Linked DNA regions of Homo sapiens: regions 1, 2, 4 and 5 are each linked to region 3. The links are contacts of gene promoters, found by promoter capture Hi-C in blood cells and fetal thymus (Javierre and others, 2016). All regions are on one chromosome and are shown on one strand. The core of a region is centred on a gene start or on the middle of the fragment in contact, and the rest is flanking DNA. Distances in the headings are between cores, read along the strand shown.

Evidence for each region. Contacts are between HindIII fragments. The CHiCAGO score rates a contact against its expected background, and 5 or more counts as called.
Region 1: a fragment that was not itself captured here is called in contact with the fragment with the promoter of LINC02416 in region 3 in 2 of 17 cell types (activated CD4 T cells and non-activated CD4 T cells); the score reaches 6.1 in activated CD4 T cells.
Region 2: a fragment that was not itself captured here is called in contact with the fragment with the promoter of LINC02416 in region 3 in 13 of 17 cell types (activated CD4 T cells, naive B cells, non-activated CD4 T cells and 10 more); the score reaches 13.9 in activated CD4 T cells.
Region 4: a fragment that was not itself captured here is called in contact with the fragment with the promoter of LINC02416 in region 3 in 1 of 17 cell types (activated CD4 T cells); the score reaches 5.5 in activated CD4 T cells.
Region 5: a fragment that was not itself captured here is called in contact with the fragment with the promoter of LINC02416 in region 3 in 1 of 17 cell types (activated CD4 T cells); the score reaches 5.7 in activated CD4 T cells.

What each region holds. Positions count from the first base shown.
Region 1 is chr12:47,096,345-47,102,069 of GRCh38, forward strand. All of the region lies in intron 1 of PCED1B (PC-esterase domain containing 1B), which reads left to right. Among named protein-coding and RNA genes, the nearest start is that of AMIGO2, 19 kb to the left of the region's middle. The HindIII fragment of the contact is 3,452 bases long and covers 1-3,016 here.
Region 2 is chr12:47,036,137-47,041,681 of GRCh38, forward strand. No RefSeq gene overlaps it. Among named protein-coding and RNA genes, the nearest start is that of PCED1B, 41 kb to the right of the region's middle. The HindIII fragment of the contact is 3,555 bases long and covers 1,874-5,428 here.
Region 3 is chr12:47,350,724-47,356,284 of GRCh38, forward strand. It overlaps LINC02416 (long intergenic non-protein coding RNA 2416), which reads left to right and starts at 3,045. Exons shown (of 4, transcript NR_183615.1): 1 at 3,045-3,159. The HindIII fragment of the contact is 14,565 bases long and covers 1-5,561 here.
Region 4 is chr12:47,018,344-47,023,966 of GRCh38, forward strand. No RefSeq gene overlaps it. Among named protein-coding and RNA genes, the nearest start is that of PCED1B, 58 kb to the right of the region's middle. The HindIII fragment of the contact is 3,361 bases long and covers 1,625-4,985 here.
Region 5 is chr12:47,052,703-47,058,788 of GRCh38, forward strand. No RefSeq gene overlaps it. Among named protein-coding and RNA genes, the nearest start is that of PCED1B, 24 kb to the right of the region's middle. The HindIII fragment of the contact is 2,907 bases long and covers 2,346-5,252 here.

The DNA.
Region 1 (5,725 bases), core at 41-2,540, 260 kb before region 3:
AATTGTTCATCTTTAAAACTGATGCAGCTTTATTTTAGGACTAAAGGATTATTTATCTTCTTTATATATAATACACATTATATATTATATATTATATATGGATAGATATAATAGTAATGTAATGTGTACAGCTGTTCACATAAATTAATTCACCTATATTTAGCTTCCCCTGTATCCTGTCCTCTTAAGCACATTGAGGGCAGAGGCAGTTTTCTTGTATCTTGTCACTCTACAGCACCTAACACAATACCTTTCATAAACATAATCTGGGCTTAGCAAGTCTGTGGATTGGATTCACTTGCAAAATCTATCCATTGCTTTAAGAGAAACCAATATTTAAAAGTAGACTTTTCGTTAAAAGGATATTACAGATATTACTTGCTTTGTTTAATAATTATCTGCTTTGGAGATGTGTTTGCATTTTTAATGAGTGCTTTAATGAGCTTCTATTACATATATTAGAAAACAAACTTGGAATAGTGCCACTATGTAAGTTAACTCTGCTGGTTTAAAATATATTTGAGATGGAATTTGATTAAATAATTACCAAAAGTAGATATGTAAGACTGTATAAGATTGCTTTAGTAGCAAGATCAGGCAGCAATATTGATTTTTTAAATTAAGTACTAAATATACCCAGTCGAATTCAAACACTTACTAAATGATATTTTGCAATTTTCAAAAAGCCCTAACATTTAGCCCCTCAGTTGATTCCCTTAATAACTTGATAAATTAGGCAAAAAAGCAAAGAAGAAGAGGATCATGGAGAGCAAGGGATTTACCCACATTTACATTTATATTGGCAGAGTCAGGACTTGAACTGAAGTCTCCTGAGGCCTAATTTGATCTTCTATCTGTATCAACCAGAAATACCTAAAATAACTCATATGTCTATAAAGATAAATGTACCTGTAGAAAATACATCCCTCAAAACACACATTTAATTACAACTTCTTAAACGAGCACCCTCTTCCTTTTTCTTACAGCTCTTTATCCCTAGAGTTTAAAGAATCAAAACACACATAAACATCTCCCTAGAGCAAACATAGGGAGTTTCCTCATGACTGGAAGCCCACATTAAAGCCACGCCTAAGGGAAGAAGGGAAGGCAGGGCTGATAATATTTTGTTTATTTTAGTCCTTCTGCTTAGTTTTTGTTTGCAGGCACTGGACTGAACTTAGTTTTCAGAGCCAGAAATTATCATTGTTTGTGTATCTAAATTTGTTAATACTCTGCTTTTAGAAATTTTTATGTACAATGGATTCCAAGAGTATTTTGGGAACTTCTCAGTGGTGAAATCTAAACTGTGGTTCAGTGAAGAGCCGACAAACACAAACTGCAAAGAGCAGTTGGCACAGTACACTTTTGGAGGCTATACGACTCTTCTGCTCTTCTAGCACAAGGCACGGAGTAGGTGCTTGCTACAGTTTTCGGATGAATGAATGAAAAGTACCTTAGTCCCCAGCACTGTCTCCTCAGTTCACCCAAAGATTCCCTGTGATGGCCGTGCCACCATTACAGCAGCAGTTTATTTTCTGTGCAATTTGTAGAAGAAGAACCAGAAACCAAATTGTTACCCATGCTCCAAATTGTTATCCATGCTCCAAAGACTATTCTTGGTTTTATGCCATAGCAAATAAGGTCTTACCATTTCCAAGTAAGGCTAGCCACATGCCAGTCTGTGAAAAGGAGGCATTTGCTTTTGGGTAGTAGTTGACATGCTTTGGGGCATTTATGCTGCCTCCCCAGCTCCCATCTCAGAGAATTCCTGCTATTCACAGTCGCTGCTGGAAAGGACAGGCTTAAGTGGCCCTATCCCCACTCCATGTCTGCCTTGCCCCACTCCAATGAGACCAGGGGTAGACTCGTGGACCACAACAATCAGACTCTCTCTTACGATTCTGAGCCGGGTTACAGAAACTACGGTCAGTGACTATGGACTGCAGCTGAGAGCTCCCAACCAGCGAGGGCTGAGGTTGGTGCCAGTGCAAGCCAAAGTCAAGGACAACTAAAGCTACTTAAGAGCAAGATTATAAATAGACAAAGCCAAAGTCTATGAACAAAGGAAATCAGACATGCTTTTAAAAAGCAAAGAGTATGCAACACTCACAGGGAATTAATAACAATATTATTTATTAATTTATTTATTTTATTTATGTTTTGAGATGGAGTCTGTCGCCCAGGCTGGAGTGCAGTGGCACAATCTGGGCTCACTGCAAGCTCCGCCTTCCGGGTTCACCCCATTCTCCTGCCTCAGCATCCCGAGTAGCTGGGACTACAGGCGCCCGCCACCACGCCCGGCTAATTTTTTCTATTTTTAGTAGAGATGGGGTTTCATTGTGTAAGCCAGGATGGTCTTGATCTCCTGACCTCGTGATCCGCCCGCCTCCGCCTCCCAAAGTGCTGGGATTACAGGCGTGAGCCACCGCGCCTGGCCATAATATTTTTTTAAAAGCAAAGAGACTCAAAAGAGAGAGTCAAAAAACAAAAGAGAGAAAGAAAGAGTGGGAGACTACAGACCAATCAACTTGAGTTTCAGTCTCTCTCTTTCCCAGCTTTGGTGGCTATGAAGTCTAGCTGGACTTTGTTTCCTGCTGGTGGATGTGTGCAAAATTGTTGGCTTAATCTTTACAGTTAACTCCTGTTTTTAATTTGAGTTAATTTGAGTGAGATTCGATTCCCAGCCACCACTCATCTCTGACCAATGGACTTCCCCGTCCCCTTCTCCCCTGCGAACCAGGTGCTTCAGTTTGGCCCTTCTCGCTCCTATCAAGAAAGAATGGGATCTGAAAAACTTTCACACTGTCAAATACTGAGTTTGCTGACTTTTCCAGTAACATTTTAGAAGAGCACAGCAGTGAGAAGGCCACATGAGACAGTAAGGGATAACAATTCACATACCATTTTGGGCATCAGTTGTAATCTATTTCAGGAGGAGCACCGGAACACCGGCTATTACCTCAGTAGCAGATCACTTACTATCCCCTTTTTGAGGGCTACTTACCATCACACATAAAGCTTTTCCTTCCTGCCACACTCCGCACACCACATACTACATAAGCTCTTCTGTCCATTGTAAATGCCTTGAAAGCGGGGATCGTCTCCACTGTGGTTTTATACTCACTGCTCTCACACTAGCAGTGACAACATCCATTTGAATGAATACATGTTCTACATATAATTTTAATGGATATTCCTTCTCCCTCTCTCAGAATGAATAGTTTGAGAACTTCTGGGCCTAATATTCAGATAAGACCCCCTCAAAAACCTTCCTTTTCCCTTTTGCCACTCCCTCTGCACTACCATGCGCCCTTGTACTTCTGTGAGATCTCCTAAAACTGAAGAGCATGAGGAAAACAGGAAATTACTATTAGCTTTTCCTTAGTCCAGGAAAAAAAGACTGAGAGGTGGCCCAGTCATATTCATAAAGTGTTGCTTAAAGAAGCCACTATTAGCAATTGAAAAGGACTTTCTAGTTCAGCCCTGCCTCCCATTCCATCTGGGCACCTCCAGCATCAGCCCACAGTTTCTCAGGCTCCAATCCATTCCATGCCAGTCATAAAGCTGACTTTCCAATGAAGACACAAGGCAGAGAGCACATTTGCATCAATGCAGGTACAGGTGTATAAACTCAGTGACTCCAAGCGGCTACACTGAGCAATGTTTACATACTTGGAAAAAGGACCATTCTCACAGATTCTATTTAAGACCAATGTGGAAATATTAATAGAAATTCTTGAATCTAGAACTATTCATAAATACTGTTTTAGAAGAATGTATTTTCATTCAGAAAGGAACACAGTTTCTGACAGACTGTGATTACCGTTTTATTTCCTTTTTCTATATCATTAAACGCAAGGGTAGTATTCAGAACACTCAAAAGTCATATATGGAAAGAAAAGAAAATGATGTTTTTGGCATGCTTGGATCTCTATCATATTATGTTCTTGTCTTTTCTGGTACAATTGTAGGATTTATTTTCTAAACATTCCAATTTTACAGCATGAGTCATTGCTAATGTAGAAACCAACTGAATCATCCATCCATCCATCAATGAATATTCTTGTCTTCTTTTTCCTTATATGTGCTTATCTTTATACTAAAAAAGATATTAGGAATTCTTGCATTTAAAGCACTTCTTCTCCCTTTCACTTATTTTGTTTGTTTTACAGGTAATACAGTAAAGCTATCATTAACTTTGTTTTGGTTCAGATTTCCATTCAAAATATTGAGTCAGAAACTCAAATCAAGTGTACTCTTAAGTATCTGAAATCTGATGTCTTCCATACAGGAGGTAAATATAAAGTCTAGAAAAAGGAGAATAGAAAAGAAATATTTTCACACTTTCTGGCCTTAAGAAAGACCAAACAGACTGGATTGTGGTAATAAGTCTATGTCTTCTTCACTTAGCCTTTAAGAGTTGACTAAAAGTTATTTGATTGGCCAGGCATGGTGGCTTATGGTTGTCATCCCAGCACTTTAGGAGGCCGAGGGGGGCAGATCATCTGAGATCAGGAGTTCGAGACCAGCCTGGCCAGTATGGTGAAACACTGTGTCTATTAAAAATAAAAAAAATTAGCCGGGCATGGTGATGCATGCCTTATAGTCCCAGCTACTCAGGAGGTCGAGGCAGGAGAATCACTTGAACCCGGGAGGTGGAGGTTGCAGTGAGCCGAGATCGTGCCTCTGCACTCCAGCCTGGGCGACAGAGTGAGGTCCATCTCAAAAAAAGAAAAAAAAAAGTTATTTGATCATCTTGTTTCAAATATGAAGAATCTAGTTTATTCCATTCCATCTTAAATATATCACCTAGGATACTTGATATTGTAATATAATTACTTGTTAGGCACATCTTTTATTATTATTATCTATACCAGATGGTTTCAAGGAGAAGACATATTTACTTGGAACCAACCTATGGTTTGAGGTGGGGCTGGGGAGTGGGCAAGAGCACTGGTCCAGGAGTCAAGAGAACTAAATGTTAGTCACTGTGATACCACCAGTGAGTGAAGCTGTCACTTACTGGGCTTTCTTGTTCGTTCGTTTCTTTTTCAGTAAAATGAATTTCCTTCAGTGCCTGAAATCTCTTTCTAAGACTCAATGACTGAGCCTTTTCCTATTGTTTATCTCTTGCCCCAAAACTTGTAACACAAAGTCTCCCCAATTTTTATGCACTTAACAATCCACTGTTCAGTAGCCATTCTACATTACATGCAATTATCATCATGAGCCCCCTTTCCCATTCTGACTATATGGAGATTATATGGGGAAAACTATAATATGGATCACAGGGAAAAAACTGAATTAAAAGGAAGATTTGGTCCGGGCACGGTGGCTCACACCTGTAATCCCAGCACTTTGGGAGGCTGAGACGGCCGGATCAGTTGAGATTGGGAGCTCGAGGCCAGCCTGATTAACAGGGAGAAACCCCTTCTCAACTAAAAATACAAAATTAGCTGGGCGTGGTGGTGCATGCCTGTAATCCCAGCTACCGGGGAAGCTGAGGCAGGAGTGTCATTTGAACCCAGGAGGCGGAGGTTGCAGTGAGCCGAGATGGCACCATTGCACTCCAGCCTGGGCAACAAGAGCAAAACTCCATCTCAAAAAAAAAAAGGAGGGGGAAGATTTGAATTTATTATGCATTATTTCTAAGAGAGAACTCAGAGAAATCATTTGTCCTAAACAATAGCTTCTATCTATTGACTCCCAAGTAGTTCCCAAGAAA
Region 2 (5,545 bases), core at 2,401-4,900, 310 kb before region 3:
CAAGGAATTAAGTAAAATTTGATGAGTAATATACTGAGAAAAATTCAAGGTACTATACAAGTGTATTATAGAAGACATTCGTATTTTGGGGGTGGAGGTGGGGAGTTTGTCGGGGAGTGCTTTTTTTTTTTTTTTTTTTTTTTTTTAGGCAGAGTCTCACTCTGTTACCCAGGCTGGAGTGCAGTGGTGCAATCTTGGCTCACTGCAGCCTCCATCTACTGGGTTCAAGCGATTCTCTTGCCTCAGCCTCTCAAGTAGCTGGGATTACAAGTGCGCACCACCATGCCTAGTTAATTTTTGTATTTTTAGTAGAGATGGGGTTTCACCATGTTGGCCAGGCTGGTCTCGAACTCCTGACCCCAAGTCATCTGCCCGCTTCAGCCTCCCAAACTGCTGGGATTACAGGCATAAGCCACCACGCCAGGCCATCAGGGAGTACTTCTAAGAGGAAGTAACATTTGAGTTCTCTGATATGTTGCAGTTAGCCAGACAAAGATCCTGACTGGAAAGATTCTGACTGGAAAGAAGAGGTATGGGTGTTTGTGTAGTTCTAGAGCGGGGAAAACCTAGTTTGTTGAAGAACTGGAATGAATTGCAAAACCCCCTGAAGTAAAAGATACCTGAAGAGGTGGGCAGAAGTGGAGTCATGAAGAGCTCTGTGACCTTCTAAGCCAACTTAAAGTCAAGTATTTTGTTTATGGATTTAATTTTTTTTACAGTTATAATCACAATGTCCCCAGTAAAGAAACCATAATATAGCTCATGTTGTTTTTGTTCTTAATTAGCTTGTTAACTTCATGGTACATTGACCACTTAAAAATGAGATTTATTCTTCTCATTAACTTTAAAATGTTTGGAAATGAATTGCTTAATATCAGAAAACATTTCTTATGCTTTTTGAGAGAGGAAAATAGGTGAGCGTCTATTTATTATCTGGTGATGTCTATGTGCTGGAGTCTTGGTTCTCCCTATTTCATGATTCCTGATAAAAGACTTATGCCTCCGTTCTTGTAGCCCATTCAGAGACCAGGTTTAGGCGTGAGTGCCACCAAACAAATTAGAGTTTTTGCCAGAGTATGGAATTCCAAGTCTTATTTTCAGGCCCCTAGGCATCTGTGCCAATTGTGTGAGTTGCACTAACGACTAGTAAGTGAGTGGTCATTGCTCTGCTAAATCTTGGATATACAAATTTAGGGGGTCTCAACACATGAACAGGATGGGGAACAGGCAGAGAGGCAAAGCTGTGTTTGTGAGGAACCAAGAGAGGCAAGGCTTGATTCCTGAGTTGTTTGGATATATGCTGTCCAGAAAGTGGGGTGAATATAGTACCCCATCCTGAGGAGATTGGAGCTCTGTGCAGCCAAGAGAAATGGCCCCATAACAGGTAGCCAGAAGCTCAGGGCTCTCTATTCACAGCCAGAATAGAGGCTGTCACAATCCTGGGGAAATTTGTTGATTTCTTTATTCATTCATCCAATAAATATGCCATAGAGACAGGGCAGTAAAACACACAATGACAACAACAAAACAGACAGAAAACTCTGCCTTCATGAAACTTATACTCTAGTGATGCAGATAGAATCCAGTAATATGTAGTGAAAAAAAAAATTCATGACCACACTGGGTTTACTCCAAGAATGCAATTTTGTATTTTGGTCTTATGTGAAAAAATCAGTCAAAGAATGAAAGAGAATAATTACATGTCACTTCAATAGTTGCACAAAAAAAATTAGTAAAATTCAATACCCAAGCATGATTTGAAAAAACAAACACTCTTAGCAAACTCGAACTATAAGGGAATTTTCTTAACCTAATTAAGGATATTTACAAAAGAACCTTTGATGAATATCATGCTTAATAGTAAAATGTTGAAAGCTTTCTTTTTAGGATTTATAACAAGACAAGCATTGTCTTTTATTACTACTTTTATTCAATGTGCAAAATTGAAGGACACCGAAGGCCCTGGCCAGTGCAGTATGAAAGAAAAATAAATAAATGACAAAGTTATTGGAAATAAAGAAATAAAACATCATTATTCACAAATATGATTATATCTGTGGAAAACTGTGTGAAAATAAATAAAATTTAAAAGCTCTTGGAACCCTGAAAATATTTTAGGCTTTGAGAGATATGTGACTGTGATCTGAATCACATGTAGTTACAACCTCTATTCTCAGATTATAGATTAACCTGCTTTCTTGTTTTTCTTGTTCTGTGCAATGACTAGAGAGAATTAAACAATGCCAAAGACAAAACCTCCTGCCTTCTTCATTAATGACCCTTGTTATAGATTAACTTCCCCATTTTTGTCTTGATTTGCTAGATAAGATGACAGAAAACTCATGACTATTACTCCCTCTGGAAAAAAAAAAAAGAAAGAAAGAAAAAAAAAAGTTAAATGTACCCTTCCCAGAATAAACACAGCCTATAACCAATCAAATTGCTGTAACTATGCACCAACCTTATATGGAAAAATGTTGTAATCCTCCTAAAAACTCCCTGTCTCTGCCTACATAAATGAAACCTTAAGTTCCTTACTTCGGCATACTTACTCTAGTCCTCTGCAGTTGGTGTTTCCAGGTAGGCTATCTTCAAATGTTGCTCTTGAATCAACTATCCTTAAATTAGATTCTTAACATTTTATTATTTTAGGCTGACAGTTGAAAAGAACCTACAGCCAAATCAAAAGAATTCATAAGTGAGTTTAGCAAAGTTACTAGAAACAATATTTAAAAATTTATTTGAATTTTTCTATACAAGCAATAAAAAAAACAAAAAGATGTTATTTATAACAGCTTCAAAAATATCAAATAACTAAAAATAAGTCTAGCAAAAGATATGCAAGGCCACCATGCCAAAAACTATAAGACACTATTAAGATAAAAAAAATAAGACCTAAATACTCTAACTGATAGAAAAGACTAATTCATGGATTGCAGAAATCAAATTGTAAAGGATAATTCTTCCCAGATGGATCTAGATATCCAATGTAAACACCTTTGATTATTTTTTTTTAAATGAAACTTGACAAGTGAGTCTACATTTAACTAGAAATTCCAAGGGTCAATAGCTAAGAAATGTTTTACACGAGTAACAGTGGATTCTGATTATCAAGACTATAATGCTTCGGTAGTAATACATTGGCACAAGTTAAGAGATTGGATGAGGATTATAAGGATAGACAAGTTAACCAATGAAATAGAAAGAGAGCCAAAAACAGACTTAACCACACATGGGTGCTTGATTTATGAGAAAGGTGGTATCATAGACCAGTGGGGAGAAAGGGATCTTGTTGATAAATAATATTGGGACAATTGAATATCCATATTAAGAAAAAATTTGACCCCTGCCTGACACAATAAATAGATATTAATTTTAAATTTTTAGGCATAAATATGAAAGAAAAAAGCAAAAAATATTAAGATGATACAGTAGGAGAATAGTTTCATGATTTTAGAGTAAGAAAAGAATTAAAATAGGACATAAGAAACGCTAACTATAAAGGAACCAAGCCACATACGTACATTGAAATTATTAACTTCTGTTTGCCAAAAGACACCTTTAAAAACGAAAAGGGAAGAGCAGAGTGGAAGAAAATATTTACAACACAAACAAAAGTTAAAAGTCTCTTACCTCAAATATATAAATAACTTCTACAAATTAATAAGAAAAGATTAACAATTCAGTAGAACAATGAGTCAGAGCAAATCACAAGAGGCTATTCAAATGGCCAATAAATCCTATGATGTTAAAATTCCTCAGAAACAATCAAAAAGTGAAAAACAAACTGGACCCAGAAGAGCAGAAGCCTGTGGTTGAAAGGAAAACAGAGCAGGGAGAAGGAAGATCAGGACAGTATTGAGAGGGTATACCAGCACTGGGTTAAAACAATCTGGGTGACGTTCAGTAAAGCTCCATTATTTTTAACTGGGATTTTTGGGGCCAGCCACTGAAGTGGGAAGGTTTATCCCTTTCCTGTGGGTCTTTGGATTTTCATTAAATCTTTCCCTATTCCCTTAAACAAATTTTGCCCTTCTGTCATCTAGTCCACTTCCTCTCTGTTGGTGGCTAAATGGGATCATCCTGGAGGAAACTTAAGGCTATTTCATTTCCCATTTTAAGTGCCTTTTGGGGCTGAACAGAGATCTGCAGTTGATTTGTTAGCTGGCAGAAGTGTGGACAGTGAAAATTGCAAATTGATTTTTTCTTGAAGGGTCAGCTATTGGCTCACATTTTCAGGTAATCAGTTATGATGCTATCAAATAAAGCCACTTGCAATAGTGGCCATCTAATAATAACAAATGTAGATTACCCCACACATTATTTAACTCTCTAAAACACTAGCTTGTGGCTGCAGGTACAAAACTCCAGTGAGAAAATCTTGCAAAAACATTTGGTGCAAAATCAATGATAAAATCTTTCACAGCATTTTAAGAGTAACTGTAAGAAGAAAGCAATTGTAGTTATTCATTTAATCGTTTTTCTAAATAGAGTCTACACATGAGCTGAACTCTTCATTTGGAATGAAATAATCCTTTTGAAAATTTTACTCTGCATTAGATTTTATCCCAAGTGGCCCAAGAAGCACTATCTAATATGACTAACAACCACACATCTATAACTAGTACAACTCCAACTATAACTTTGTAGGACCTATTGAAGTGGTTGACTTATGCTTATTAAAATATTAAATAAGAATGAAACCAGTCATTCTTTGGAAGATTCCAAATAATGTTGTAGAAACTTCTATTCATTTATATATTCCAAGATATCTTCCATAAAGTGGATAAGATTTTTAAAAAGATGTAAAAGGACCAATTTTGAGTGTGGCCCAACCAGACTCAATTCTGGAAATCAATTCTTACACATTATCAATTATTCATATTAATATATCATTATATATATATAACTTTTTACACTGATTTATTTATTTTATTTGACACTATAAAATAAAGCAACCTAAAATAAAGTCAGTATTGCCTTGGAGAAATATTCTGTTAATCTTTCCATTCTGAAAATGAATGCCATAGGAGAATGACGAACAACAGAAAATTTATTAGCGTAATGAAAGAAAATTTAAAGTACTCCCCTAAATGCATAGAAGTAGACTATGCCCTGAAACTGTTTTTGAGTAGAAACTTTCTGAATATTGAGTTACAATGGTGCATTTGATCTAACAAAAAAGATGAAAATATAAAGAATTAATTGTCTCAATTCCAGAGAATATTGTATATAGTTGTGTATATAGTTGTGAAAAAACTGGACAGCACTTTTTTCATATTAGTTCACATTCACAAAGTTCATAACAATACAATATGACTCATAGTTGTTCATTACTAGGACCTTGAACTACAAAGAAACCCGCAGAATATTCCTTGGCAGCTCTGGCTTCATGGATATATGACTTTGCATTCATACACGAATCTTAAGCTTGGAAAATCAGCTGAGCGCAGTGGCTCACACCTGTAATTCTAGTACTTTGAGAGGCAGAGGTGGGCAAATCACCTGAGGTCCGGAGTTCAAGACCAGCCTGGCCAACATGGTG
Region 3 (5,561 bases), core at 1,795-4,294:
GATGATTGTCTGTCAATCCTCCATCCTGAGAAGAGAGGCAATAATTACCCCTGCCCAGATGATCCACAGCCATGGAAGGCATTCATTCCATCCTTTGGGGCAGTGATGCTTAGAAAAGCCCTCACCTGATGGCAGGCTGAAAGATCTGAATTGCAGTCCCAGTTCCGCAACCCGTCAGCTATGCAACCCCAGACACAGCAATCTGCACCATTCTGAGTCCTAAGTGTCTTCAGCAAATTAAATGAGATATCTGTGATCCTTCCAGATTTATAGCCTTTTCCATCAGGGAAGTGAAGTATATGCATGAACTTTAAAGGAATAGGGGGCTATATGCCAGCCTAAAATATCCATTCTGATTTGGGACAGGTTTCTCAGACATTTATTCTCAAGATATCCCACATTGGCTCTTTTCTCAGCTGCTAAGATCTGACCCTTGCAATAATCAGGTTTCCAGAGGTATGGAACACAACAAATTAGTAGGCCCTAGAGGGCTACTAATGGCTGTCTCCCACCTATGTAAATACACATAAATAATCACTCAGTCATCCATTCTAGAATCTTGCTAGTGTTTGCATTATACTGACTGGTGGAGCATCTCAAATCTGAAACTTGAAATGCTCCAGTGAGTATTTCTTGTCAGCGTTCAAAAGTTTCAGATTTTGGAGCATTTTGGATTTTGGATTTTTAGATTTGGGATGCTCAGCATGTATAAGAAATAAATTTTTGTTTTTGTTTTTTAATAAATTACCTAGTCTCAGGTATTCTGTTATAGAGCAGAAGCCAGGCTAAGACTGTGTTCATAATAGTGGCTCATCATTTGTTTGGCAATATATTTGTTATTAAAATATTTCACTGTGACAATACTCACTGTGATAAATTTTATTCTACAAACAACTTTCTTTAGGGTATTTTTTTACAATCTGAGGATTATACAAAACCACCTGATAAAAATAGGCGCAATAATTCTTGGGCTTTTAGTTTCAAAGTCTGTTTTCCCATCTGTTATCCAAAGTCTGGGTCGGTCTACACAACCAAAGCAAAATGTAGGATTCTGTAATTATCCTTTGACTCAGAGACAAATAGAATATCAGTAGAAAAGGGACATCTGTGCTCATCTGATTCAATACCAGTCAGAAATATGATTCTTTGAAACATCTAACAACCATAGAGGACAATCTGCTTTATTGAACCCATGAATTCAAATTCTAATCTCATCTGGAAACACCCTCACAGACACACCCCAAAGTAATGTTTAGCTAAATACCTGGCATCCGGATCCAGTCAAGTTGACACAAACAATTAACCATCAAATCCCACATCTCTAAGGCCTTCATGGCACCTAATACAAAGTAGGTGCTCAGTAAATGTTTTCTTATTGAGTGGATGAATGAATGTATTTTTATTATTTCCAGTGAAATCGTAAAGATGACTATGGATGAAGAACTACAAAGTTAGTAAAAAGTAACTGACAGACCGCTCTTAGCCTGCTAGCCTGCTGACAGATTGTACTGCTTAGGTTGATTGACAGTTACTCTCAGAGTATTAACTGTATAACTGAGAGTAACTCAAAGTAGTAACATGTCTACATATGGGGAAGACTTCACTTGAGTCTCACTGATCCTCAAAGCAGACACTCAAAATAAATGTGCTGTGAGTTTAGTTTAGATCCAGTCCAGATGCTATTTGAAGAAAGAAGGGAAAGGAAAGGAAAAGAAAGAAAGAGGGAAGGAAGGAAGGAAGGAAGGAAGAAAGGAAGGAGGGAAAGAAGGAAGGAAGGAAGTGAAGTAAGTTCAAAGTTACTTGTTTAAAAAATAAATACAAAGAAAATATTCTTTTCTGGCTGCCAATCTGTTAAAAAATTAAAAAGTAATATATAGTTTGGGGTTGTAATTATCAGGCTATTGTAATTTGCCCTAATTTTTGTACAGTTTTATTTATTTCAAATGTCCAATTTTAAGGAGAAGATAATAGACTTCAAATTATGGATAGAGAGATTGTAATAGAAATCTCTTCAGATACTAAGAAACCTGGTTTCATTTCATTCTCTTTGACATTTCATTCTCTTTGATCTTTAATATCCTTATCATTGGTCCTAAAATCCACTAGCTCTTTTTGGGTTACATGAACATTATTAACTTCAGATATTCTACAAGTCATGCATGTTGACTTGGGGTTCTGGTTTTGGCTATTATCTTATGCAGACTGGTGCCGTCTACCAGCAGCTTGGTACACACATTTTTTTCCTCACCAAAGATGGATTAAAGAAATAAAGTAGCAGAAGTTTTGTGAATAGTGGGTTTGACAGTAATGCATATACCAAGATATATGCTGGTAAAATGTATCCATCCAGCAGCCTTAATTTTTACATATAAAGTTGTCCCTTGGTATTCACGGGGGATTGGTTCCAGGACCCCCTGTGGGTACCAAAATCTGCAGATACTCAAATCCCTGATATAAGATGGTGTAGTGTTTGCATACAACCTATGCACATCCCCCATATACTTTAAATCATATCTAGATTACTTATAATGCCTAATATAATGTAAATGCTATGTAAATAGTTGTTGCATTGTGTTGGTTTTTTATTTGTTTTTTTGTTGTTGTTGTCATTTTAATTTTTTTCAGACATTTTTGGTCTATGGTTGGTTGTATTTGCAGATGCAGAATCCTCATATACAGAGGGCCAGCTGTAACTCATATGTTTTCAAGAGGATCTTCTCAATATAACAATGTGTAGCTTATGGCCAGGCACAGTGGCACACGCCTGTAATCCCAGCACTTTGAGATGCCAAGGCTGGCAGATCTCTTGAGCTCAGGAGTTTGAGACCAGCCTGCAAAACACAGTGAAACCCTGCCTCTATAAAAAATACAAAAATTAGGTGGGCATGGTAGTCTGTGAATGTAGTTCCAGCTACTTGGGAGGTTGAGGTGGAAGGATCACTTGACCCCAGGAGGTCAAGGCTGCAGTGAGTCATGAGTGTGCCACTGCACTCCAGCCTGTGCGACAGAGTGAGACTCCGTCTCAAGAAAAGAAAAGAAAAAGGAAACTGCAACGATGAACAGATCAGAATAGGCGACATGCACTGAACAAGGTAAAAAAGACAGAAAATTATCTGGAGAGGTGGCCGGAGGACACATCAAGAAGCGCCTTGTACATTGGTAAGGATTGTGGATTTTATGGTGATTAAAAGTTGCTGTGGGGTTTTTTGAGTACAGGAATGACTTAACCGGTATAATGTTTGTAAAAGGATCCATTTGGCTGCTGTGCAGAGAAATAGACAGGACAAAGTAAGTGGAGAAGCCAGGATACATACAGGAAGCTATGGTCATTGTCCTGGTGAAAGCAATCCACAACTTGGGCCTGGTAGGGACAAAGGTGAAAAGTTGCTAATTCTACATGTATTCTTTGATGGATTGGGCATGGAGAGGGAGAGAAAGGGAGTGGTCAATAAGATTCCAAAGTTTTGGGCCCAAGCAATTGAGTAAAACCGTGGTGACTTTTACTGAAATAGGAAAAACTGAGGTGGGTCAGTCTGGGGCAGGGGGAAATATGAAATTCCATTTGAGAGCTGTTAAGTTTGAGATATCTATTATATAATCAAGTGGGTATGTCAAGTAGGCATTTGTTGGTTTTTATAATTGTATTAGTCAGGGTTCTCTAGAGGGACAGAACTAATGGGATAATATATGATATATACATATATATGATATATATATATATATATCAATTGTACCCCAAACCTCAGCATCACATAATATACTCATGTAACAAACCCACACATGTATCCCTGAATCTAAAATAAAAGATGAAATTATAAAAAAAGTTATATTGAAGCGTGAAATATTGATTACAATTTTGAAGCATAAAATATATCGATTATTATCATGGTTATTACTGAGTATCAACTTGATTGGATTGAAGGATGCAAAGCACTGATCCTGCGTGAGTCTGTGAGGGTGTTGCCAAAGGAGATTAACATTTGAGTCATATATATATATATAGATATAGATATATAGATATAGATATAGATATAGTTTAGTAAGTATTAACTCACACAATCACAAGGTCCCACAATAGGCCATCTGCAGGCTGAGGAGCAAGGAAAGCCAGTCTGAGTCCCAAAGCTGAAGAACATGGAGTCTGATGTTTGAGGGCAGGAAGGGTCCAGCATGAGAGAAAGATGTAGGCTGGGAGGCTAGGCCAGTCTAGTCTTTTCATGTTTTTTTGTTGTTTTTTTTTTTTTCTGCCTGCTTTATATTATAGCCATGCTGGCAGCTGATTAGATGGTGCCCACCCAGATTAAGGGTGGGTCTGCCTTTCCCAACCCACTGACTCAAGTGTTAATCTTCTTTGGCAACACCCTCACAGACACCTGCAGGATCAGTGCTTTGCATCCTTCAATCCAATCAAGTTGACACTCAGTATTAACCATGATAATAATAAATATATTCTGTGCTTCAAAATAGTTGTAATCAATATTTGACACTTCAATATAACTTTTTTTTATAATTTCATCTTTTATTTTAGATTCGGGGATACATGTCTGGGTTTGTTACGTGGGTATATTATGTGATGCTGAGGTTTGGGGTACAAATGATCCCATCACCCAGGTATTGTTCACAGTACCCAATAGTTATTCAACCCTTGCTCCCCTTCTTCCTTCCTCCCTCTAGTAGTCCCCACTGTCTACCATTGCCATCTTTATGTCCATGAATATCCAATGTTTAGCTCCCACTTATAAGTGAGAACATGCGGTATTTGGCTTTCTGTTCCTGTGTTAATTTGCTTAGGGTAATGGCCTCCAGCTGTGTCCATGTTCCTGCAAAGAACATGATTTTGGTCTTTTTTCTGGCTGCATCAAGTAGGCATTTGGATATGAAGTCTGGTGTTCAGGAGAGTTTGGGGCTGGAGACAGAAATTTGTAAGTTATCAATATCTAAACTAGTGCTAACCAGTAGACATACGAGGCAAGTTACATATGTTTTCTAATAGCTATATGTTAAAAAGTGGAAAAAATAGGTAACATTAATTTTAGTAATGTTTTATTCAACTTAATACATCCAAAATCTCATTTTATTGTATAGTCAATATGAAAATATTATTGTGTTGTTTTACATTCTTTTTTTTATAAGTCTTTGAACTTCAGTATGAATTTTACATGTGTACCACATCTTGATTCAGACTTAATAGCCATGTGGCTAGTGGCTACTGTGTTGGACAGCACAGGTCTGGATGGTGTTTAAAGCCAATGGACTGGATATTGAGAGACAGTATAGATAGAAAAGAGAAGAAGCCCAAGAGACCCGAGGACTGAGCCCTTGGAAACTGCAGCATTTAAAAGTCAGGAAAAAGAAGAGGAGGATCCCCAATAGAAGAGAAAAAGAATAGAAATGCTGTCTTGTTAGGGGAGCAGGATATGGGTGTATGCATTTATCAAAACTGATTGAACTGCACACTTAAAATTTATGCATTTCACAATATGTAAATTATGACTCAATTTTAAAAAGCACATTCTAAAAATAGAAGAGAGAGAGAGAGAGAGAGAATCAAATGGAGAAAA
Region 4 (5,623 bases), core at 2,055-4,554, 330 kb before region 3:
TCAGGTTTCTCTGCACCCCACCCAGTCCAGCTGAGCATGACCACCTCTGTTCACAAGGTGCTCCTACACACCACCATCATCGGTGTTGGTCTTCTAAGTTTCTCAAAAGAACCCAAGGCTAGAAGGCCAGACTCAAATTTAGAATTCTCAGACTTCTTGAAGATCCACCCAGGAATTTTAAGAACCTACCATCACCTGACTTTTCCTCCATACCGGCTCTGCCCAGTACTGTGAGCATAGATACAAGGATATCTCAGCCGGCATGTCCAAACTCAAGCCACACCACCACCACCATTACCTCCTCCAAGCACCATCTCTTGGAAAATGAGACTATCTGGACAAAAAATTCCCTGGCCATGGATACTTAGAATATGGTAGAAAGGAGGCCACAGGATGTAGGTGGCCACATCTCTGTGGTCCCAAGACTCCTTGCATTATGGAGAGAAGTGTAGCCACCTGCACCCGGGTCTTCTGACAAAAGGAGGGGGCAGAAATGGGAGACGGGGAAGTTAGGATAGCATCTACGGACAGGGGCTTCTCTTGTCCTGATTTAAGACGATCAGGCAGTGGTGTGTCTTCAAATAAAAACAAAGACAAGTCTCACTCTGTGAACTGTTTGTCTCTCTAGAACACTGGATCTCAACCAGGGGTGATTTGTTCTCTATGGGATACTTGGCAATGCCTGGAGATATTTTGAGTTGTCGTGATTTGAGAAGATTGGGAGTTGCTACTGTCATCCAGTTGGTAGAGACCAAGGATGCTGCTAAAACTCCTACAGCACATAAGACAGTTCCATCACAACAATAATATAATATTAGTTTGGTACATTACTTCTAATGGCGAAAACCACAATTATCTTTGCACCAACCTAATAATAATAATGGAAAACATTTTCTAAAAGTTAATTTGTAAATTGGTTATATATAATATTGTTGTCAAGCAGATCTTAAAGCAATGGTTCATGTCACTTAACTGCACAAAAGATTTAATCACACACACACGCACACATGTGCATGCATGCATGCACACACCCAGCTTATGAACTAAAGTTCAACTTTCTAAGCTTGACATTCAATATGACTCTTGATCTGGAGCCTACCCTGTTTATCAATTTAATCTTTCTCTATGATCTCCTTATGTAACCCAAAGCCTGTGTCTATGCTACTATCAGACTTAAATATTTTAGACTGCCATATGGCTATCTCCCATATTTTCCCTATCAATTTTTGGCATACTCAACCCCATTCCTGATAGTGAATTAAGTCTTCAGCTGGACCTTCTAATGTAAAATGTTCAAATTCAGAAACTAACTACACTTAAAACAGAATTACCCACTAGAATACATCAAGGCTGTACCACTAAGATAATAATAACTAGCTCTTGGGATTGGAAGGATAAGACAACGATACCATGTATAAATCACTGTGAAGATGTTACCATTATGATGTCCCTACCTCATAATAGCACTCAATGAAATGTCTGTGTCTCTCCTATAATTAAAAAGGCATTCCAAGTAGGAAAATAGCTTTTGCAAATAAATTAAAGTAAGGCTATTTACAGTAAAATAATAATAATAATAATAATAATAATAATAATAATAATAATAATAATGTAGCACAATAGAAGCTTATTTCTCACTCACATAAAATCCAAAACAGATGTTCCTGCTTGGTGGCAGGAGTGGAAGGTCGGCTGTGTGGATGAAGGAAGACTGCTTCATAGCTTCACGCAGAGCCGTAGGCTGGAAGTCTCCATCACCTTCCACATGTGGCTTCCATGATCATCCTGTGTGTCAACATCCAGTGGGCAGATGGGAAAAGAGAAAGCACAGGGTATGTGCCACCACTTCTTAACCACTTGGCCAAGACATGGTACACATCATCTCAGCTCATATTCCACCGGCAAGAACTAGTCCCACCTGGATGCAAGGGAGGGTAGGACTGGAAAATGAGGGCCCTGGCTGGGCAGAGCTTCTCAGCAACAACGCTACACTATGGAAAGGACATTAGCTATCTTTACCACAGCAAAGCACAAGGGTATAGGAGATGAAGCAAAGACAGAGAGCAGTGGGCAGGCTTGCCTGGCTAGAATATGAATTGGAGCTTCGTGGCAGATGAGAACGGTTAGGTAAGGAAAGACAGCCAGATAACAGGAGACTCATGACTCTATCATTATGAATGTTTTCTATTTGAGAGACAGCTGTGAATCCGACCTTGAAGAAGAGTTATTTGATAAATAATGATGTTTAAAACAGACACTGTAGCCACAAAGTAATTTTTGTTTCATTACGAAATGAATCTGGTTTTTATTCAGGCATATCTTCCTTATGTGGAAATTCATAACTTTAAAAACGAATCATTGCATCACTAAGAACTCTTTTCACAGCATTCTCTTACCCCTTCCAAGTACCCTTTTCAATCAATGTGCTTTCTCCTTCCTTCAATTGCTTCTATGGGCTTGCAGAATCTGCTGCTGTGTTTGTTCCTTTGCTGTTCTCCTTTAATTGCTGTCTCTGCTGTGTCTGGTTCTCCTCCTTTCTTTTGGCCCAGACTATTTATTTCTAAAACCCATCAGCATTCTGTGAGGGTTAGGATTCATTTCAGAGAAACTCAAGGGAATTACCTCTGGGTGATTTTTCAGCCCAGGTATTTGGGGCAGTTAAAATGTCATTTATTTCTCTAGACTTGCATGATGTTGTGCAAAACATGAAATTAATCTTAACTACACAACATTCAACTCTTGACATTTCAAGACCTTTATTAAAATGTTGAAATAGAATTTTCCTTTAAATATGTTAATAGAAGAGACTTGTTGCTTTCCCTATGTGATAACTTTCTTCAACTCCCACATCATCTTTCATTACCCAGAGAAACACACCTTTGATTTTATAACGGAAGTCAATGGAAAAAAAACTTGCTATATAGAAATACACATTTACAGTAAAGTTTTTTATGCTGATATTCACTCAGTAATAGAATGTATACCCATATAATCTATTGTTCTAGCTTTCCATAGATGTCAAAAATGTTGTCAGCCTGATGCTAGAATATCACTGCTATTAGTGTGCCATCTAGTGGCTGATGTTGTGATATTTTCCATTCTTTGTTGAGGTAGAAGAGGCTTTAAGTGACATATGGAAAGTCCAGTGAGATTCCTTCTTTGATACAATGCAGGGATGACACAGTTGTATAAAGCCAATGGCCAAATGTTGAGTCATCTGATGATGTGTAGAGGATCGTTTGTAAGTTCTTACTTAGCCAATATAATTAAGAAATGAAGCTATTACAAGAACAATTAAATATATTTGTTAGCTCGCTGTATCATGATGCACAAACCATATGTGCATTAACCATATACCAAGAACCAGAATACAATAAAATGCATTTGACCCTAAATTTAAATTAGATTTAATTTTACTCTTGTTATTCAGATGGTACTTTAGGATCTTATAGGTCTAGGCTTTGAATACTAATTCTCATTGTGTAGTATACAAAAATGTATGTTTGAGCTTTCTGGTTGCTTGGATTTAAAACTAAAAGTGGTTTTGTATTTATAAAGGATCAAACCTATCATGCATAGTGTGAGTGGCAGCATATCCACCATTTTAGTTGATTCTTTGTAGTATTATAACCATAATCGCATGATCTTATATATTGCTTTATTCCAATATTAAAGATTGAGAGATAATGATAATGATTTTATCTTTTAGTTATAGAATTGCCTTCAAATGCCTTGTTTTATAATCATCTCAAAGTCAAACAAGAGATTCCTTTAATCGTTACATCATTTTTCATAGGCAAGTAATGAGGGACTGAATGGTTTTGCTGTTGAAGACAGAAGGACAAAAAAGTAAAATCATATTCTCCAAACATATACAGATAGTATTGAAAAGAAGTGTAAGAATTAGTTATTGTTTGTTTGCCCTTGGAAATAACAGTTATTATTCTGTTATTATTTTTAAACATCTATTTTATTTATTATTATTAAAGGAGCAGTTATCACTAATGCAATCATTTCAGAAAAATTTTCTTTAAAGCAAACACAGGAAAACAGAAACAAAAACCACCTCCATTTAATTGAGTTCTTAGTATGTGCCACGTGATTTAAATACTTTACATACTTTTCTTACTTAGTCCTCACACAACCTGATAAAGTTTCATTTTATAAAGGAAGAAACCAGGCTGAGTCATTGAATAACTTATTTTAAGCCACATTGACAGTAAAGGGCAGCTTCTGGATAAAACCTAAGTGTGTCCAATTTTGAAGCCGTGCTTATAAATGTGACAAAAAATACTTTATAACCATGTCAGGAAAACATGCATTGTACCTACTACTCTACAAAGTCTAGCCAAGAGCAGAACTGACATGCATTGTCTTATTTGCCATAGGTAAATCAACAGGAAAGCGAAGTATAAACAGTTAACTCAGACTAGTATATTACCCAGGGTTTTATACTGGTTGATCTGCCATTATTCCAGAGGCAAGACTACAAATCACTTGGATAACATGATCCTGCAATGTCAAGGTAGGTAAATAACTTGTGAGAGTTTTTAAATGATGCCATCACCACTGCAGAAGAGTATATTTACTCCTTCTGCTTTCCTTAAAATGGCTAGCATTAGGCTCTTTATTCAGAAATTTTTATATTATAACATACCTTATCTTATATCATTATCTTCTCCCAACAATCTATTAGGCCAACGTGCTAGATCAGTGATGTTACTTTAAGGCCCTCTCAATCTTTTTTAAAAGTTGTAAACAGACCACTGTGCCACGTAAAGATTAAAGTGTAAAGACTGAGACTTCAAGAATAAATTTTAATGCTGTGATCATATAATATATAAATTTTGCCAAACTACTTTTTGAGCTGCATGCTAATTAAATACAATGCTTAACAACCACTGATACACACACACACACACACACACACACACACACACACACACATAGAACTACTTTTACATAGCTAAACCAAGAAATGGGAAAGCTTGTTACTTTGTTTCTAGATTCCTGGATTCATAATTCAAGGGCATTGTGATAGATCTCCTTTGTTGTTCTTCCTATATCCACCCCTCCCTCCCCAAGCCAATGGAACCTTAAGTTCGTTCAGGTGGCTGCTGAGATCTTTCCCTCTGTCGAGTATTTATGGATGGGTTTAAACCAATCGTGATTCATCCCAGGGCCAGGGATAAATTATGATTGGTCTAAACCAGCCTTAGTAATCTTAGTAATCTTGTAACTTTGTCTGGGAATGAAGTGACAAATTTTGGTCAATGAGATGAAAGCAGAAGTTTTTGAATGAGCCTCCAGGGCTTGTCTTTCTGATTAACACAGATAACATAGAAAAGAACTTTTGTCTTTCTGATTAACATTGATAAACTTACAGAAGACAGCCTTTGCCTTTCTCTTCTCTTCTGCCTGCAATGAAGACATAGTCCCTGGAGGCACAGCAGACATTTGTGACCATAAGATGACAAGCCTGAGGACAAAAGTCAACTTTTATTTTTTGAGACGGAGTCTCATCCTGTGGCCCAGGCTGGAATACAGTGGCATGATCTCGGCTCACTGCAACCACATCCCCGGTTCAAGGGATTCTCATGTCTTAGCTTCCCTAGTAGCTGGG
Region 5 (6,086 bases), core at 2,549-5,048, 300 kb before region 3:
TATACGAATGCTTGGATGAGCTGCAAAAGGTTGAGCAAAGCAAATGTTTCCATTCCATCTAGTTCAGCCACATAGACATAACCTTTTTCGTTCTCTCTAAAATAAACTCAACTGAGTAATACTACATTTTTCTTTTATTACTGGTGGCATTTTATTTAAATGTTTGCATCCATATTCCTAAGTGAGATGATATTTCCTTTTTTTGTGCTATATTTTCTATGTTTTGTATCAGAGTTATCTTAGTTAGAAAGTAATAACTCCAAGATGGCAGAGTCATTCACAGGAGCCCCAATCTCTGAGTCTTTTCTTGAAGGACAACTGCCAGGAGAGCTGCCTGGCTCAAATTGGATTGTGACATGAGTGAGAAATGGAGTTTTATTATGATAAGTCATATTATGGTAAGTTTGTCTTGTTATAGTAGCTAGCATTGCTTTTCCTGACTCATAGATTCTTGTCATCTCAGGTCCTGCCATCATCCTAGGTGACTTCTGTGTCCACATCAATGACCTTTCCAAAACCTTAGCCATTCCTCTTAACCTCATTAACATTTGTACCTTCATTTCCTCTGCTGCCATTTAGTCACAGCCCTAGAGCTTGTCGTCCCCTAGAGCTTCCCAATCACATCTATTCTTCACCCTCATGTGGTTCTCCTATCTACTTTTCTGTTAGACCTTTCCTGCCCTCAATTCCTTCCCATCCATCTTATTCTCAATGGCCATGAGCTCACTTATTCTTGGGCTAATCTATCACTTCCCCTTAACTCTCATTAAACGACCTTCTCTATTTCACAAAGAAGATGTGATCTTCAGGCAAAGAGTTCTCTCACTCCCTACACAGTCCTCCAAATCTTGTTTGTGTCCACACCAATCCTCTTCTCCATTCCTCTCCTCTGAAAAAAAAAGAGCTGTTCCTCCTCCCTTCCCATGTACTCACTGCCTTCCTTCCTGCTGTGTCACGCCTTTGCTCCACTCTTTGTGCCCTGTCTCAGCTAGATCTTCATTCTGTCCTCTACTGGTTTCTCCACCCTGGCCTTTAGATATGCCCAAACTTGAACTTCACAGCTCTGTCTTTATTCTGCATCCTTCTGCATAGTCAAGGCTCTATTTTTTGTTTACCATCTTCCCATCCAAACTTCTTGAAAGGGAAGCCTGCAGTTTCTTATTTTTCATGCATTCCTCAGCTCCCCACTGCCATTTGTCTCCCTCCTCCACTTAACGATTTATGCCAAGGTAATCTGTTCCTAGATCTAGTGGACATTTCTAGGCTTTCTCTCTCTTGATCTCTGAAGTATCTGGCCCTACTGGACACTGTCTCTCCTTCTCTTCATTTGGCTTTAGTGATACTATCTTCTCCTCTGGATTTGCTCTCATCTCTTTGGTCCCTCCTTTTCTGGCTCCTGCTCTTCCAACTGCTTAAACATTGCTGTCTCCACTGTTCCATCCTCTTCTGTTCTCTTGCCACATATTCTCTGATTTATTTCATACACTCCCATGTCTTGAATTCCTAACTAAATGCTTATGGCCAGAATCTAAATCTCTGGCTCAGCTGTATCTTCTGAGCTCCAGGCATCTTCATCCATCTTTGTACTAATCTTTCTTCTTTGATGCCCTACAGGCTGCTTAAACTCAACATGACCAAAACAAAACAAAACAAACTTTCTTCTCCTTCAAACATCTTAGAGAATTGCATCCTTTTCTGCACCACCTAAGCCATAAGTTATAAAGTCAGCCTCCATGCTCTCTTCTACCCTCCTCCATCTAATCTACTCACCGATCTGATCAATCCTAGGGTCTAAATAACTCTCAAATATATCCCCCTCTCCATCTCCATCACTACTTCTCAATTAGGCCTGCATAATTTCTTCCCAATTAGTCTTATAATGCCCTAACTCGTCTGCCTCTTCCTCTTTACTGCAGTCAGAAAGCTCTTATTAAATTACAAATCTACTCATACCACTCCAGCTGCTAAAATCTGTTCAAAGAAAAATTAGACAAATTTAATTTAATAGAGTCTAATTGAGCAAAGAATAATTCACAAATCAAATAGCCTCCTGAAACGGAATAGGCTGAAAGAGTCTCCAGCACTGCCTTGTGATAGAAAAAGAAAAAGGAAAGTGCTGTACAGAAACAGAAGTGAGGTACGGAAATGGCTGGATTGGTTACAGCTTGGCATTTCCCTTATTTGAATATAATTTGAAGAGTTGGCCACATTTGATTAGCCAAAACTTGGAGATTGGCACAATTGTAGGTTACAGCCTGTTTACACATTCGGTTAGGTTACAGCTCACTAGGTAGGAGAAACCTTTAGGCTGAAGTTAAAATACGCAAGGAGGGAGCTTTAGATGAAGCTTAATTTAACAAACCCTTCACAGGCCAACCACATAGCTTTCAGAACAAGGTGGAAATGATGGGCATGGCACATTTCATACTGAGATCTGCCTGCTTTCCAGGCTTCCCCTCTGCACAGCCCCTGCCTCTACCCATCTTCAACTGTGGTCTGGCAAAAGCAAACTATTTTCAATTTCCTGAATGCACTTCATTCTCTCCAGTTTCTTAGCCTTTAACCATACTATTCTCTCAGACTGGACTGATATCCCCATCTTCCCATGCCACTTCACTTTACAAACTGTTTCTTCAGGGCTTACCCTGGGATACTATATCCTTAGGAAGTCTTCCCTAGACATTCAGCACCACCACCCTTCTTTGTTCTCCTACAGCACCTTGTGCATACTTTATTAGTGCACTTATGTGATTCTGAAATGATTTGTCTCATTTCAATCAATTATGAAGTCCTAAAAGCTGTGCCTCTTCAATATCTCCAAAATCCTGCCTTCTCTTGAACCTGGTTTTCCTGCTTTCATTTCTGTCCCCCGCCCATTTCAAAATTAGCAACAGAGGGGTCTGTTTCAAATGCAAATCGAATGTCCCTTCCTTGCTTCAAACGGATCCTTTAAGGAGGGTTGAAATCAGAACCAGTAGATATTTGGAAAATGTTACTTTAACATGTGAATACGTGAATGAGGTCAAAAATGGCTTCATGGAAGTCAAATTTCTGTCAGGTCTTTTAGGATTAATAAACTATCAGTCAATGGAAAATGCTAGGGAGTACATTCTTTAAGGATTTGGAACAGGAATTCAAAGAAATTAAAGAGTGTGTAAGCAGAAACTCAGTTGTATGTAAGAAAACCCAGTTCCCCCTGAGAAAGAGAAAAAGATGAAGTCCTTTAAAAACTATACTGCCTATTTTTCTGTGGCTAGTGAGCCTTATCTCTCCTCCCTTCCCAGGCATTGTGAAGACCCTGTTTCTCTAGCTGTGCAGCTGCGAGGTCACTAGACAGATAAACTCAAGTTGCAAAACATGTTTTTCCTTGAAAAGTAAGAAATGATGTAATGACTGTCTCAATTGAATAACTGCCATTGTTTCTCACTTCTGTAGTATGCTTCCCCCTGCACAGATCTCCACCCCCCCACACACACCCCCGCCCCACAAAATGCTTAAAAAGTAAACTAACTCTTTGTTCAGGGCTTAGTCCTTTGGATGTTAATCCGACTGGGCCAGTGCACCTAAATAATTAATACATATCCTCCTGAACCCCATCAATCTCTCTGATTCCTTAACAATCCTGCTACATTTTCTTTAAGGAATCTGAGTAGGCTAGATTAGAATGGGTTGCTTAGATGGAAGAATTATGGGACATAACACTGGAAATGTTGCCCGAAGCTGCAAGGAGAATTTTGAATGCAATACTGAAGAGTTGCACCACTACAAGTGCTTTATGCAAGACAAAATTTAGTTCTGCATCTAATTTCCCTACTTAAAACTAACACAGCTTAAGAACGTTAAATAGGAAATGAATGTTTATTAGGTGGCAGGTCATATTCAGGGTCTCAAAAGACACTCTATGTCAGAGCAATGTCAGAAGAATACAGGAGAGCTGTTGGGAGGGACCTGAGGGGCCAGAGAGATATAAATTTAAGAGCTACAATTTGAATGTCTTGATGTGAAAATAACTAAGAGGGGGAGGAGCCAAGATGGCCGAATAGGAACAGCTCCGGTCTACAGCTCGCAGCGTGAGCGACACAGAAGACCAGTGATTTCTGCATTTCCAACTGAGGTACCAGGTTCATCTCACTGGGAAGTGCCACACAGTAGGTGCAGGAGAGTGGGTGCAGCACACTGTGCATGAGCCAAAGCAGGGCGAGGCATCACCTCACCCAGGAAGCGCAAGGGGTCAGGGAATTCCCTTTCCTAGTCAAAGAAAGGGCTGACAGACAGCACCTGGAAAATTGGGTCACTCCCACCCTAATAATACGCTTTTCCAACGGGCTTAAAAAACGGCACACCAGGAGATTATATCCCGCACCTGGCTCAGAGGGTCCCACGCCCACGGAGTCTCTCTCATTGCTAGCACAGCAGTCCAAGATCAAACTGCAAGGTGGCAGCAAGGCTGGAGGAGGGGCGCCCGCCATTGCCGAGTTAGTTGTTTGATTAGGTAAACAAAGCGGCCGGGAAGCTCGAACTGGGTGGAGCCCACCACAGCTCAAGGAGGCCTGCCTGCCTCTGTAGGCTCCACCTCTGGGGGCAGGGCACAGACAAATGAAAAGACTGCAGTAAACTCTGCAGACTTAAATGTCCCTCTCTGACAGCTTTGAAGAGAGTATTGGTTCTCCCAGCACGCAGCTTCAGATCTGAGAACAGGCAGACTGCCTCCTCAAGTGGGTCCCTGACCCCAGAGTAGCCTAACAGGGAGGCACCCCCCAGTAGGGGCGGACTGACACCTCACACAGCCAGGTACTCCTCTGAGACAAAACTTCCAGAGGAACGATCAGGCAGCAGCATTTGCGGTTCACCAATATCCGTTGTTCTGCAGCCACCGCTGCTGATACCCAGGCAAACAGGGTCTGGAGTGGACCTCTAGCAAACTCCAACAGACCTGCAGCTGAGGGTCCTGTCTGTTAGAAGGAAAACTAACAAACAGAAAGGTCATCCACACCAAAAACCCATCTGTACTTCACCATCATCAAAGACCAAAGGTAGATAAAACCACAAAGATGGGAAAAAAACAGAGCAGAAAAACTGGAAACTCTAAAAATCAGAGCACCTCTCCTCCTCCAAAGCAACGCAGCTCCTCACCAGCAACGGAATAAAGCTGGACGGAGAATGACTTTGACGAATTGAGAGAAGAAGGCTTCAGACGATCAAACTACACTGAACTACAGGAGGAAATTGGAACCAATGGCAAAGAAGTTAAAAGCTTTGAAAAAAAATTAGATGAATGGATAACTAGAATAACCAATGCAGAGAAGTCCTTAAAGGACCTGATGGACCTGAAAACCAAGGTACGAGAGCTACGTGATGAAAGCAGGAGCCTCAGTAGCCGATGCAATCAACTGGAAGAAAGGGTATCAGTGATGGAAGATGAAATGAATGAAATTAAATGAGAAGTTTAGAGAAGAAAGAATAAAAAGAAATGAACAAAGCCTCCAAGAAATATGGGACTATGTGAAAAGACCAAATCTATGTCTGATTGGTGTACCTGAAAATGACGGGGAGAATGCAACCAAGTTGGAAAACACTCTGCAGGATATTATCCAGGAGAACTTCCCCAATCTAGCAAGGCAGGCCAACATTCACATTCAGGAAATACAGAGAACGCCACAAAGGTACTCCTTGAGAAGAGCAACTCCAAGACACATAATTGTCAGATTCACCAAAGTTGAAATGAAGGAAAAAATGTTAAGGGCAGCCAGAGAGAAAGGTCAGGTTACCCACAAAGGGAAGCCCATCAGACTAACAGCTGATCTCTCGGCAGAAACTCTACAAACCAGAAGAGAGTGGGGGCCAATATTCAACATGCTTAAAGAAAAGAATTTTCAATCCAGAATTTCATATCCAGCCAAACTAAGCTTCATAAGTGAAGGAGAAATAAAATACTTTACAGACAAGCAAATGCTGAGAGATTTTGTCACCACCAGGCCTGCCCTAAAAGAGCTCCTGAAGGAAGCACTAAACATGGAAAGGAACAACCGGTACCAGTCACTGCAAAAACATGCCAAATTGTAAAGATGATCAAGGCTAGGAAGAAA